Regions from separate parts of the Homo sapiens genome. Here all the other regions are linked to region 3. Evidence: promoter capture Hi-C in 16 types of primary human blood cells and fetal thymus (Javierre and others, 2016). All regions are on one chromosome and are shown on one strand. Each heading gives the region's core, a stretch centred on a gene start or on the middle of the fragment in contact. The rest is flanking DNA. Distances are from core to core; before and after follow the strand shown.

Region 1 (3,096 bases), core at 272-2,771, 220 kb after region 3:
CCATTCTTAATCCTGAAGGTCCTGCATTAGTTGCATTTCACTTGATTTCCCATTTCTGGATGCTGCTGCCCTTTTCCTATGCTAAAATTTATTTTTATCAAATGTTTTAGATACATTTTGGAGTCCCCAAATCATTCTGACCTCAGGTTCCTACAGACGTATATTTTCTTTCACTGTGATGCATAGTCCTTCTAAGATATGAAAGCTTCAGCTGTGAAATAGAACTCTATTTTATTTTATTTTTTTAGACAGAGTTTCGCTCTTGTTGCCCAGGCTGGAATGCAATGGCTGGATCTCAGCCCACCACAACCTCTGCCTCCCAGGTTCAAGAGATTCTCCTGACTCAGCATCCTGAGTAGCTAAGATTACAGGCATACGCCACCATGCCCGGCTAATTTTTGTATTTTTAGTAGAGACGGGGTCTCACCATGTTGACCAGGCTGGTCTAGAACTCCCAACCTCAGGTGGTCCACCCACCTCGGCCTTCTGAAGTGCTGGGATTACAGGCATGAGCCACCGTGCCTGGCCTGATCTCTCTTGACTGTGGAGAAGGATGAGGCTCATGCAGCCGCAAATCCAACCATGAACCCAGTGAGGAGATAAGAGTTAAATTGTGCTTTGATATGCTGGTATAGCATGATTTTATATACTCAAGAGGGACTTTAGCTGGTCAATATGAAGTAACAGGAGCTAGATTACCCTGTCACTTGAAATAACTAAAAGACTGAACAAAATATGTGAAATAATGTTTCTGAAGGCACTGGACATCAGGCAATGGAGGACAGTGATCCCCAAGAGATAGGAAACAAAAAAGGTGAGTCTTGTTTACTGGAAAGTGATTGTTTCAATTCGTTAGGGAGAGATTCCATGCTACGTCAAAGAGAGGGCAAACTCAGCTGCAGCCTGGCAATCTTTCTGTGTCGAGGAGAAGGGGAAGGGAGTCCAAAGAAGCTAGAGTTCACAAGGCAGAGTATTGAGGAAGAGAAAACTCCATAGAAAGAGAATCCTAAAGATTTATAGAAATTCCCCCTTGAGTGTTCAGCAATGTACTGATTAGCATATGCATGTGAGGGAACTTCATGAAGGGCTAAATATCTGAAATAAATTAGATATCTTCTATCAAGGAAGAAATGGAGAGGGGATGATAGTGAGACGGAAATGGGTGTTGAAAAGACAACTAACAGAGTCAAACATATAAGAAAACAACAAAATTCTGCATAATGTTCTGAATAACTTTTATGCCAATGAATTTGAAAAACTAAAAATTTAAAAATCACCAGTAGCTTCAGATAATAAAACTCAAATATATAAATAACCATTAAAAATTTGAAATATTAATTAAAGACCTTTTCCCAACAAAAGCTTCAGTACACTATGGGTTTATAGGTGAGTTCTAAAATTTTAAGAAATAGATCATCTCTATCATGCATGCATTCTTCAAGATAATAGAAAAAGATGGAAAATTTTTACCAACTTATTTTATGAAGCTAGAGTAACCTTGTCTCTAAAACTGGATAATGACAATTCAAACTGTGCAGTGTTTTCACCATGCATTTCATTGCAAGGCAACCCAAAGCCAATCAGTCCATTGTGTAATCAGCCCATTCCCCTGAGAGTCTCACCTCTCAGTAGGAGGTGGGTATGTTTCCATATCTTCCAGGTGGCCAAGGGCAAGCTTCTCTGATCCAGGCATGTAAAGAGCCAAGTATCTCTCCATAACTGCCATTAGCCATCCCTTAAAGTATATTTCCTACCTAGTTATTACACACCAAGGCTAAAAGCTCTCCCATAACACAAAGTAATTTTTGATACCCCCAAAAGTCAAAACTGTCAGGTAATACAATGCAAAACAGAACAGTGTCTTAGATTTTGAGAGGGATCTATTCTCTTTCCATTCTTGGGCTTCTGTGACGAAAACAGAGGTTTTTCCTAGGTTTTTCTGTGGTGCCTCCTCTGCTTTTCCCCAGGAGTCCCAGGCTGTTAGAATTTATCTTAGGTTCTCTCATGTGGGCATCAAGAGTGGGAAGAAGACAAAATGGAGAAAAACAATTCAGTCTACTGAAAAGAAAAAAACTTTCAGAAGAACATGATTCCAGAAGAGGAAAAAGATAAAGCTCTCTTAAATACATTTAACTTGGATATCTGTTTTTAATTAAGCTGATTTTAGCCATAGAGCTATTTTTTTCTAAAAAGAAATTCTTTTAAATCTTTTATTACCAGACTCTAGCTAGAACAGCCAATATTTCTGGCTTTTGAATTCTGCCATAGGTAATTTCCCACATGAAATTAATTAATAAGTTTTAACTAAGGTTAACTTAACTATGGATGCATAAGATATCTCAAAGAGACGGTAAGTAGTTTCTATTTTTACAAGATTTAGAATCTCCCCAAGGGTAGTTCAGGGAAAGGAAAATTCAAGACAGGAAATCAGAGGCTATCCATGGGCGAAAAAACCCTCAATAAATGGCAAAGTTACACAAATAACAAACCAGGAAGGAATGCTTCCGGAAGCCAAGAATTGAACCCTTGCCACAATTGTCAAAAGATAAAGCGTCAGCTACTGAGCTACACAGCATTGAGCAGTTTCTATTGCTCTTTCCAGAAGCCTAGAGCAGCCAATTTCAAGCATGAAAAGGCTTTTAACTGCTCAAGATAATTTTTAGGGCTAACTATAATGTGAACCCCCAAGTTTCTGTCCTCTAGATGGTGGAGACCAAGAGAAAATATCCCCACACAGTCCCAGGGTTAAGCTCTTAAGGACACAAAACAAGACGAAATTTCATTTGGTATTGGTTTCAGGGACACGCAACAAAGTTTGTAGCTGATTAGCCTGCTGGCCTGGCTTGAAAGCAGGGTTATACGGATCTCAAACCCACATTCTATCCTGTGATACCCCTGTCTCCATTACAGAAAGAAAAATTCTTAGCACAACGTGCATCAGATTTGCTACAGCCTAAGACTAGTCTCACAAATCCTTTTTTCTATCAATCAAACTCTTGCAGAGAAGACAAATAGTGACGTTTACCATTTATACACACACACACACACACAGAGTCAGAGAGAGAGAATAGAGAGAGAGAGTCAGAGAGAGATAGA
Region 2 (3,334 bases), core at 744-3,243, 170 kb after region 3:
CTTTGGTAATATCCATTGCTATGACTGACAATAAACATCAACCAGAAATTATTGAAAACTTTTATGGAGACATATTTCTATGCCAATTTGTTTTGTACTTTGTCTGTCCTATCAAGGGATGGGCTTTTTTATCTGTTCCTTGAAGGGGATTGATTCATGATGCTAGAAATCAGATAATAAAACTTGTACATATATAGGTGTTAAGTCCATTTAAAGTATCAAGTCCAGGCTGGATGGTGGAGATTAAGAAGATGGCACAAATCCTGAAAGAGAAAGGTTCAGGTTATTAGGAAAGAAAGAATTCATAAGACAGAGGTTGAGTATAACATCTGTGGATATTTTGGAGATTAGTTACTATGGACTGTGGTGACAAAAAAATCTCGTCTTATTAACTTCCTGTATGAGTAGTGTTGAAACAGAAATTATGTTTTTAAAGGAAGTTTGAATTTCCTGATTTATGACAATCTTATCTATTGAGTGAGAGGCCCACATCCTACATATGAGTATAAAGAAACTCTGTAAAGCCCTACAAACTAAAGAGTGCCCCTTTCTTCCTATCACTCAGACTTAATAAGATACAATAAAATTTTGAAAATAAACTGGCTAAGATTTGTATGGCCAGGCATTTTGATCCAAGCCTTCATGAGTGTTAAGAGTTACAATCAATAGAAAACTTGGGACTATTGGCTTGTGAAAAAATAAAGGGCAGATTCATGAAAATTGCTTATACTCTAATGCCTTCCCATCAGCATGATATTCATAAATTTGATAATATATAATGAGATTATTGTGATTTCATTCACATGTTTGAAAATTCCTATTGACATATCTGGAAAAGCTAACCTATAATCTGTAGCCTGGTGACAGGTTTTACATCAAAGTTCATTAGAGAACAAGATTGAAGAATTCATACTATGCAAGTAAGATATATTATTAAGCTACAATAATTAACATAGTGTGGTATTGACAAAAAATGAAACACTTCATGAGCAAAGGAGAAGTAAGATCCTTTTCAGACAAGAAACTGCTAAGGGAATTCATTACCACCAAACATGCCTTATAAGAACTCCTGAAAAAAGCACTAAATATGGAAAGGAAAGACCATTACCAGCCACTACAAAAACACAATAAAGTACACAGACTAGTGACATTATAAAGCAACCGCACAAATAAGTATGCATATTAACTAGCCAACAACATGATGACAGGATCAAATCCATACATATCAATATTAACCTTGAATGTAAACAGGCTAAATGCCCCAATTAAAAGGTATAGAGTGACAAACTGGATAAAAAATCAAGATCCAATGGTATGCTGTCTTCAAGAAACCCATCTTATTTGCAATCACACCCATAGGCTCAAAATAAAGGGACAGAGAAAAATCTACCAAGGAAACAGGAAAGAGAAAGCAGCAGGAGTTGCAATTCTAATTTCAGACAAAATAGACTTTAAGCCAACAAACATCAAAAAAGGCAAAAAAGGGCATTACATAATGGTAAAGCGTTCAACTCAACAAGAAGACCTACGTATCCTAAATATATATGTACCCAACACAGGAGCACTCAGATTCATAAAGCAAGTTTATAGAGACCCTGAAAGACACTTAGACTCCTACACAATAATAGTGGTAGACTTCAACACCCCATTGACAGTATTAGCTAGATCATCAAGGAAGAATATTAACAAAGATATTTAGGACCTGAACTCAACACTGGACCAAATGGACCTGATTGATAGATATTTACAGAACTCTCCACCCCAAAATAACAGAATATACATTCTTCTAACCTGCACATGGCACATACTTTAAAATTGACCACCCAATCGTAAGTAAAACATTCCTCAGAAAATGCCAAAGAACTGAAATCATACCAACCACTCTCCTGGACCACAGGGCTATAAACATAGAATTTAAGACTATTTGCTTAAAACCGTACAATTACATGGGAATTAAACAACCTGCTCCTGAATGACTTTTGGGTAAATAAATGAAATTAAGGCAGAAATCAAGAAGTTCTTTGAAACTAATGAGAACAAAGCTACAACATACCACAATCTCTGGGACACAGCTAAGGGAGTGTTAAGAGGGAAATTGGTAGCACTAAATGCCCACATCAAAAAGTTAGAGACGTCTCAAGTTAACAACCTAACATCACAACTAAAAGAACTAGAGAAGCAAGAGTAAACCAACCCTAAAGCTAGCAGAAGTCAAGAGATTACCAAAATCAGAGCTGAACTGAAGGAGATTCAGTCATCAAAAACCATCAAAAGATCAGTTAATCTAGGAGTTTGTTTTTTGAAAAAAAATGAATAAGATAAATAGACCTCTAGCTAGACAAATAAAGAAGAAAAGAGAGAAGATCCAAATAAACACAATTAGAAATGACAAAGGGGATGTTACCACTGACCCCACAGAAATACAAATAACCATCAGAGACTACCATGAATTTTATGTACACAAACTAGAAAATCTAGAATAAATAGAAAAATTCCTATACACATACACACTCCCAAGTCTAAACCAGGAAAAATTAAATGTCTGAACAGGCCAACAAAAAACTTTGAAATTGAATTAGTAGTAAATAGCCTTCCAATCAAAAAAAGCCCAGGATCAGGTAGATTCACAGACAAATTCTTATAGATGGACAAAGAAAACTGGTACCACTTCTACTGAAACTGTTCCCAAATAACTGAGGAGGAGTTGCTCCCCAACTCAATCTATGGGGCCAGCATCATCCTCGTACCAAAATCTGGCAGTGACACAACACAAAAAGAAAACTTCAGGTCAATATCCTTGATGGACATTGATGCAAAAATACTCAAAAAAAAAAATACTAGCAAACTGAATCCAGCAGCTCATCAAAAAGCTAATCCACCATGATCAAGTAGGCTTTATTCCTGACATTTGTGTTGGTTCAACATAAATGAGTCAATAAATGTGATTCATCACATCATCACATAAGCAGAACTAAAGGCAAAAACCACATGATTATCTCAATAGATGAAGAAAAGGCTTTTGATAAAGTTCAACACCTCTTCATGTTAAAAACTCCCAATAAACTAGGTATTGACCAAACATACATGAACATAAATAAAAGCCATCTATGATAAACCCACAGCCAACATTATACTGAATGGGCAGAAGGTGGAAGCATTCCCCTGGAAAACCAGCATAGGACATGATGTCCTCTCCCAACACTCCTATTCAACATAGTATTGGAAGTCCTGGTCAGAGCAATCAGGCAAGAGAAAGAAAGAAAGCACATCCAAATAGGAAGAGAGGAAGTCAAACTATCTCTGTTTGCAGGTGACATGACTCTACATATAGAAA
Region 3 (3,192 bases), core at 305-2,804:
TTGTAGCTCATTTCCTCAAGAGGCCAACTTTAATTCTCAAGGAGGCTGGGCTGGGCTAGAGGTGTTCCACTTGTGTTCCCACTATCTTTTCCCTGTCAAGGCTCTTCCACTTTGTGCTGCAATCCCCTGCTTTTCTGTCTCGCCCATTAAACTTTGAGCTCTGTGAAGTAGGAATTGTGTCGGTTTTGTTCAACTTACATTCCCACTGCCTAGCACAATCTCTGGTTCAATAAATATTGGCTGAATGACAGAATCCAAGTGTGAGTGTGTAACAACTCGGCTGAGAAAGCATAGATTATTTCGTGGGGTAAATAAATACTTGGATTACAATTTATTCCAACTTTCCCTTTTTGAGTTTAGAAAAATTTCCTTCTGCTTAACATTGCTCCTTCACCTAGAATCCCACTCCTTCCTTTTCTGCCTACTCAACTTCAAGACCCAGCTCTAAGGTTCTAGCCTCTGTGAAGTTCTTTTGGTGCCCACAGTTTAGACCCTTTCATGGGACTTCCATTGTGTCTGTGATTTTTCCATTTGCTTGGTTTCTCTCTGCACTTGGCTATGGGCCATGAGGGTCCAGACTGGGTCTAGTTTGCCCTGTGCCCCCAGCACCTAGCCTAGGGCTGGAGAGAGAGCTTGGAAGATAGCTGGAGACATTACTTGCAGACAAAGAGAGAGGGCACAGAGCCTCGAAAGCTCCAACTAGGGAGGCAGAGGGGTTTGAGAAGGAGTGAAATGGAGGCAGGCAGCTCTAAGGAGCATCCCCTAGTGTCCAGCCTAATTCAGATTTGAGGATCTTTTTTGGGATGGCTGGGGGCTGGGGTGTCAGATGTGATCACAACTTCAGCTTCGCATTCAAGCTTTCCAGAGTGCTCCCTCCCTCAACCAGCCCCCTTCTTTTCCCAGTCCTGCCTTCCTTTCTTCCTTCCCTTCTCTGTTGTGGCTCTGTGAACTGGATGTAAGAGGGAAAAGGAGATCTGCAGGGTTGGCAAGAGGAGGTCCTCGCCTTCTGACTGGTGTCTAGGAGGGGCTGCGTGTTGGGGAAGGGGCTGTGCTTTGGGGTGAGCAGGGGCTCTAGGTGTATTCAGGGGACCAGGATGTGAAGGAGTTCCGACCAGGTGGTGTGAAGCTGTGATGAAGTTGTAGGCTGTGGGGGTGAAGGTGTGAGGGGAGCTGTTTGGGGGCTGAGGGAGTACTATGAGAGGCACGGTGTGGACGTTTGAGAAGGTAGTGTGGAGCTCGTTGGGGGGACTCTATTAGTGTTCTGGGGTACAGTGAGAAATAGCTTGTGGGGGGGGCTGAGGGAGGCACCCACCTCGTGTCCCGGCTCCGCGAATGCGAGGGGGCTCGCAGCTGAGGTTGCCCACACTGCTGCTGTTGAGGAGAGGCGCCCCCGGGCGGCACAGGGAAGCCCCCGGCCCGGGTCCGGTTCCCTGCACGCTCCGGTTCAGCTTTAGCAGCTCCATGGCCCCCGCCGAGCCCGCCGCCTTACTCAGCTCGACCCGGCGGGCTCCCAACGCGGCTCCACCTGCTCACGCTGCGATTCCGGCTCAGGCTCCCGCCGCCCTCCTCTCCCTGCCCCCTGCCCCGCCTGGTCCCCGCCCCCAGCCCAGGCGCCTGCCCTCCACTCTCCCGCGGCTCGCCCCGCCTGGGTTCCCGTCCCTCCGCCAGCCTCTGTCCCGCCAGGTGACTGTGCACCCCCTCCCTGGCTCGGGAGTTCTGCCCCTCCCTGTGCGACTGTCCTCCAGGCTCGCCCCCTCCCTAGATGTGTCCCGTCTCCTCTTAGAGATTTCTCTCCTGCCCACCTCTCTTTATCACCCGCCCCCACCCCCGATTCCCAGGAATGAGAGAGAGAGAGAGAGAGAGAGAGAGAGAGAGAGAGAGAGAGAGAGATTGAAGACAAGAGTATTGGCAGCGTAGGGGGAGGTTTCGGGGAAGGGAGGGTAGGAGGGGTTGGGTAGAGACGGCTGCCACGGATCCAGCATCTTTCTCTGGTGTATCAGGGAACGTGGAGGTGGCGTTGGAGACCAGGTCTGCGTGCGTCACCTGCTGAGGCGCGGATGCTTTAGTCTGAGCCTAGAGCCGCATTTACCGTACTGTGTTGCAGTGGCCGCAGTGACCGTGACACTATTGCTACCGTAGTTCCCTGCAGCTCCTCGCTGCGGGCCTGGGGTAGCTCCTGCATCTGTCTCCGCACCCTCCATCTCCTGTCTGAGGCTTAACACTCAGGCTTGCACTTAAGGGTCCCAAGGAGCCCTCCACAGCTGGGCGGGAGTGGGGGTGGGGCCGGGGCCGAGATTTGGCTCCAGGGAAGCCTTGCCAGGGAAAAGGGCTCCCGGGAGGAAGCTTCTGACTTGAGTGTTGAGGGCAGTTGGGGGTGGTGGCAAGCACTGACAAGGATAAACCAGAGTAAGGTGAGGATGGGATATAATTCTAACGCCGGCCCAGCGCAGGCAAAAGAGAAGGAGAAGGTTGGCTTTCTCCACCGTCTCCAGGCAGCGCCCACGCCCACCCGACACGCTAACGCTCCCTGTTTGCTCTCAGTGCAGGCAGAGCTGCCTGTGTAGGGTGTCAGGTTCCCACGAGAGGGGGCTAGAAGGGGACTGGGTCACTGCGGTGCAGCGGGAACAGGGCTGAAGGGTGCAGGACTGAACTGGGTTCAGCTTCTCGGGGCAGGATTTGCCTCTTCTACTATTTCAGCCCTGCTCCCTATGCATTCTCCTATCCATTCCTTTTCTTCCCCAGATTCCTATCTCCAGATTCCTATCTCCAGATTCCTATCCATTCTTCAGATTCCGGATGAACTCCAATACGATGTGAAATTCTTCTGACCCCCAGCAGTAGCTGTAAGAGGTTGGGGGCGGGCATCAGTGGAAGAGCAAATTAGAGAATGGAGTCTGGCTTTATGGGGGATTCAGCAGGCCCTTATCCAATTAATCTTTTGGAGAGGACCTGGTTCAGCCAGCCCTGAGTTTATAGGGGCTGAAGCATTGAAAGAGAGTTGAAAGACAGTTTATGCCTGAGATGTCATCAACTGCTCCCCCTTTCCTTCCTCCTGGTACTGCCTGTCTTGCCCATCAGAGAGCCTGGACCAGAGGAGCTTGATTTGCTATTTGTTCCGCTCCAGCACAGGTGGGGCCTCAGATAACCTGCTCAAGTTTTCCCACATTGGATGACAGTACGATGAGGAGGGAA
Region 4 (3,377 bases), core at 377-2,876, 240 kb after region 3:
GCCAAAACTCAGATCTTAATTCCCGAACCAGACTTCTGTAGATCAATGCAAATGGCCAACACAATTATGAGATGCTTGACTCAAACTGGGTGTACATAGGGATAGAAACTACCAACTTTGTTGTAGGGATTTGTAAAGGATGGAGGGACCAAGACAGCAGTGGGACAACAGTGATCACCCCTCACAGTAACTAGCACAGCTCTCACATATTGAGGGGCTCAGTAAACATTTCCTTACTTATGATATTGAATTGGCTAAAAGAAGAGTTGAAAAATCATGTCTATCTTTAATCTCTAGTTCCCCAGTAGTAGAGTCCTAAACGTAACAAATGGATAAACCACATACTTGAAAAGTTGGCTCTCTGCTCTGGTTCTAAGTATAGAGGTTTAGAGGACCACAGATTTCTCACAAAATTGTCAAGCTCACTGCAAGTGGTAAAATAACTGGTCTCAAGGGTCCTAGATAGGCTTTGAAGTAAATCCTCATACAGATGATAAAGGAGCAAGATAACCAAAGAATCAGACCATGAAGGGCAGACCCAACTCTGCTGTGAAGTTCCCATAGCAAAATGTTAAAACATGTCCTCTCTGTAAAGGTTTTCAAGCACTGTCTTGAGTGGATATAATGAAGTAGTATAAATTAAAGGCATTTTAAATGGATGGGGTACCAATGTTTTGTCAGTTTTTCAAAACTGAGGAAGTCTATGAAGATTTGCTTTGCTGATACAACCTGAATATGTTCCAACTGCATTGGAAGAGGGTGCATTCAGAACATGAGAAGAGAGACAGGAGTAGCTTTCCAAAGGTCACTCCCCTCACTCCCTGGTTTGCAGGTTAGTCATATTTGTGTGAGGAACACAGCCTCTTGAGCAGGAAGATCTGATATCATTGCACATTGCTATTCAATACCATAGCTGACTTAAATCAAGGCCAGTGGAAAGAAAGAATAGCAAGTCCTCTGGAATTAAGGTGGAAAAAGAAGGGACCCTATGTTGGTAGCCAAAGCTCAAAACAAACACCTAAGTATTGTTGAGGGAACAATACTACACTTTCCATTTATCACAGAAAGCTTTTTAGTGCCTAGCCATCCTGATACTTTATTATGCTTTGGTGTATATTCTAGGCAGTGAGAGTTCTGAGACATCAGAGAAAGTTTATAGCATCAAGACTGCAACTGTAGAACTTAAACAGCAACGTCTGAAGTTAAGCAAACTCTTCATAGTTGGCAAGTCAACATTGCCCCTTTGTGGCTATTTGTGGGAATAACGGTACTGTATTGAATGCCAGTTCTCAGTCTCAGGTGTTTGAAAGAGAACGTGACAAGTCCGTTTAGAAAACTCCTGTACTTCCTGCTCATAGGGCACATAGGGACTTGAGTGATTAATTTAACAAATAAAAGAGACATACCAATTTATACCATGATTTTCTTTTCTTCAGCAACATTTAAAAGTCAATACCAAATCACTGACATGAGTCAGGTATTCATAAGAATAGTGAATATCCTTAGTGTTTCATAACATATTACACTATCAGCATTTGGCTGAGTACTGTATATAATAACAACATTTCTGCACCTATTCAACCAAAAATTAGTTATTGAGTTCTTTACGTGTGATTAGCACTCTGAACATACAGGAAAACTAAGTTTTAGAGAGATTATGGTCAAAATAGCCCATGAATTATAATTCCCATTTTTGCAGATGAGGCAACTGAGCAAAATGATAAATTATACATAGTCATTTAATCAATAGGGACCAGAGTTAAAATTGAGAAGTAAGGCATTTTGCTACATAAACCCATTTTTGCTTCTTCAGAGTCTAGGGATTGAGGTATATTTTTAATCTTTCACTGGATAGCTTTGTAGTTTCCTAAGTTTTTCATACTCCAGATTATAGATATCAAAGGCAGAGTACACTAAAAACCCACACGCATTGAATTAGTCAATGCAATTAAAGTTAGCTACTGTAACAATGATAGCACAGTGGCCTAACACAATAAAATTTACTTCTCACCCACACCTCATTCCAATGCATGAGGGCTTTGCTCCACATCAACATTTAGGGACCCATGCTTTTTTTATTATGTGGATCCTCCATGTTCTGGGCTCTTAGAGACCTTCACTGGTGCTTCTGAATCTGGGTGGCAAGCCAGAAAGAGAAAGAATATGCAGGATTTTGTAAGCTTTAGGGCCCCAAACTAGGAGACACATCACTTTCTCTATCATTTCATCGGCCAGACTCCTCACATAGATCCAGCTGCTTGCAAAAGAGCCTTGATCATAAATTTTCATTTCTCTTTTTCCTACATAGACAATAGGCTTACCTCCTTATCAAGGGAGACCACCCAAGCTCTCATCTGATTACTCTATGCAGCAAAAAATCCAAGACCTACAGATGTGTGTGGCCTTCTCCATCAGATCCCATTGTGATTTCTCTTTCACCAGTGATATTCTGTCTCTCTATTAATGGCGGAGCAGATGATTTCCAACTGGAAATGAAGTGTAGAATTCAGTTAGCAGTAACTTAATAGTAATGCGAGAATGCTTTAGGAGCAGATATTGCAATATTTTTACTTACTGAGAGGGGGACAAGTTTCTTGACTAGACATTGTTTGCGTTCTCTAGGAGGAACTCTCCTGATCATTGTTTTCAATGTCCTGATCATTGCTTTTTATTGTTTTTTTAATGCCATCTGCCTTTGGGGGTTTGTGCCTTTATTAATGTTCCCATTATCCTAAATGTGCCTTTATTAATGTTCCCATTATCCTAAATGAAGCAGGCATCGAACAATGTGACTTCTTTTGGAGTGACACTGCATTTGAACCTACTTTCTACTTATAAAATATTAGTATCAGTACTTTAAATAATTTTTTATTTAATTATTCATTTTAAAATTGATACATAATAATTATACATATTTATGAAGTTACATACAACGTGTAGTGAGCAGATCAGGGTAATTAGCATATCCATCATCTCAAACATTTATCATTACTTTGTGTTGGGTATATTCAATATTCTTTCTTCTAGCTATTTGAAAATATACAATATATTGTTGACTATTATCATCCTTTAGTTCTGTAAAACACTAGTACTTGTTTCTCCTTTCTAATTGTAATTTGTGTAGGATCAATACATTTTTTAAATTCTAAAGCAAAAACTTTCTTCAAAAGTCAAGTTCATGTTTCTTTGGCAATAAACCCCCTCGAAGGCCTAATAGGTTTTTGATCTATCTGTATCAGGTCAGTTCAATGTGCTAGTGATCACACTCAAAGGATTTTCTTAGGCATAATTTCCATTACTTTTCTTTTCTATATTGTCTTCTCCCTTTCTCCATGCCACTCTTTTTCTACTTAATGATGTTTATTTTAAGGCTGTCA

What was found. The method cuts DNA at HindIII sites, captures the fragments that hold promoters and counts their contacts. A CHiCAGO score of 5 or more calls a contact.
Region 1: a contact is called between a fragment that was not itself captured here and the fragment with the promoter of CCKBR in region 3, in 1 of 17 cell types (M1 macrophages). The highest score is 5.6, in M1 macrophages.
Region 2: a contact is called between a fragment that was not itself captured here and the fragment with the promoter of CCKBR in region 3, in 1 of 17 cell types (monocytes). The highest score is 5.5, in monocytes.
Region 4: a fragment that was not itself captured here is called in contact with the fragment with the promoter of CCKBR in region 3 in 4 of 17 cell types (M2 macrophages, M0 macrophages, M1 macrophages and 1 more); the score reaches 7.5 in M2 macrophages.

Annotation. Positions count from the first base shown.
Region 1 is chr11:6,040,504-6,043,599 of GRCh38, reverse strand. No RefSeq gene overlaps it. Among named protein-coding and RNA genes, the nearest start is that of OR56A1, 11 kb to the right of the region's middle. The HindIII fragment of the contact is 313 bases long and covers 1,365-1,677 here.
Region 2 is chr11:6,091,492-6,094,825 of GRCh38, reverse strand. No RefSeq gene overlaps it. Among named protein-coding and RNA genes, the nearest start is that of OR56B4, 15 kb to the left of the region's middle. The HindIII fragment of the contact is 9,529 bases long and covers 1-3,334 here.
Region 3 is chr11:6,258,200-6,261,391 of GRCh38, reverse strand. It overlaps CCKBR (cholecystokinin B receptor), which reads right to left and starts at 1,554. Exons shown (of 5, transcript NM_176875.4): 1 at 1,313-1,554. The coding sequence starts at 1,463. The HindIII fragment of the contact is 1,486 bases long and covers 860-2,345 here.
Region 4 is chr11:6,021,033-6,024,409 of GRCh38, reverse strand. It overlaps OR56A1 (olfactory receptor family 56 subfamily A member 1), which reads left to right. Exons shown (of 2, transcript NM_001388488.1): 2 at 1-3,377. LOC107984303 (a long non-coding RNA gene) reads right to left here and starts at 2,410. Exons shown (of 4, transcript XR_001748102.2): 1 at 2,322-2,410. It also overlaps a transcript of OR56A3 not described here. The HindIII fragment of the contact is 1,112 bases long and covers 1,071-2,182 here.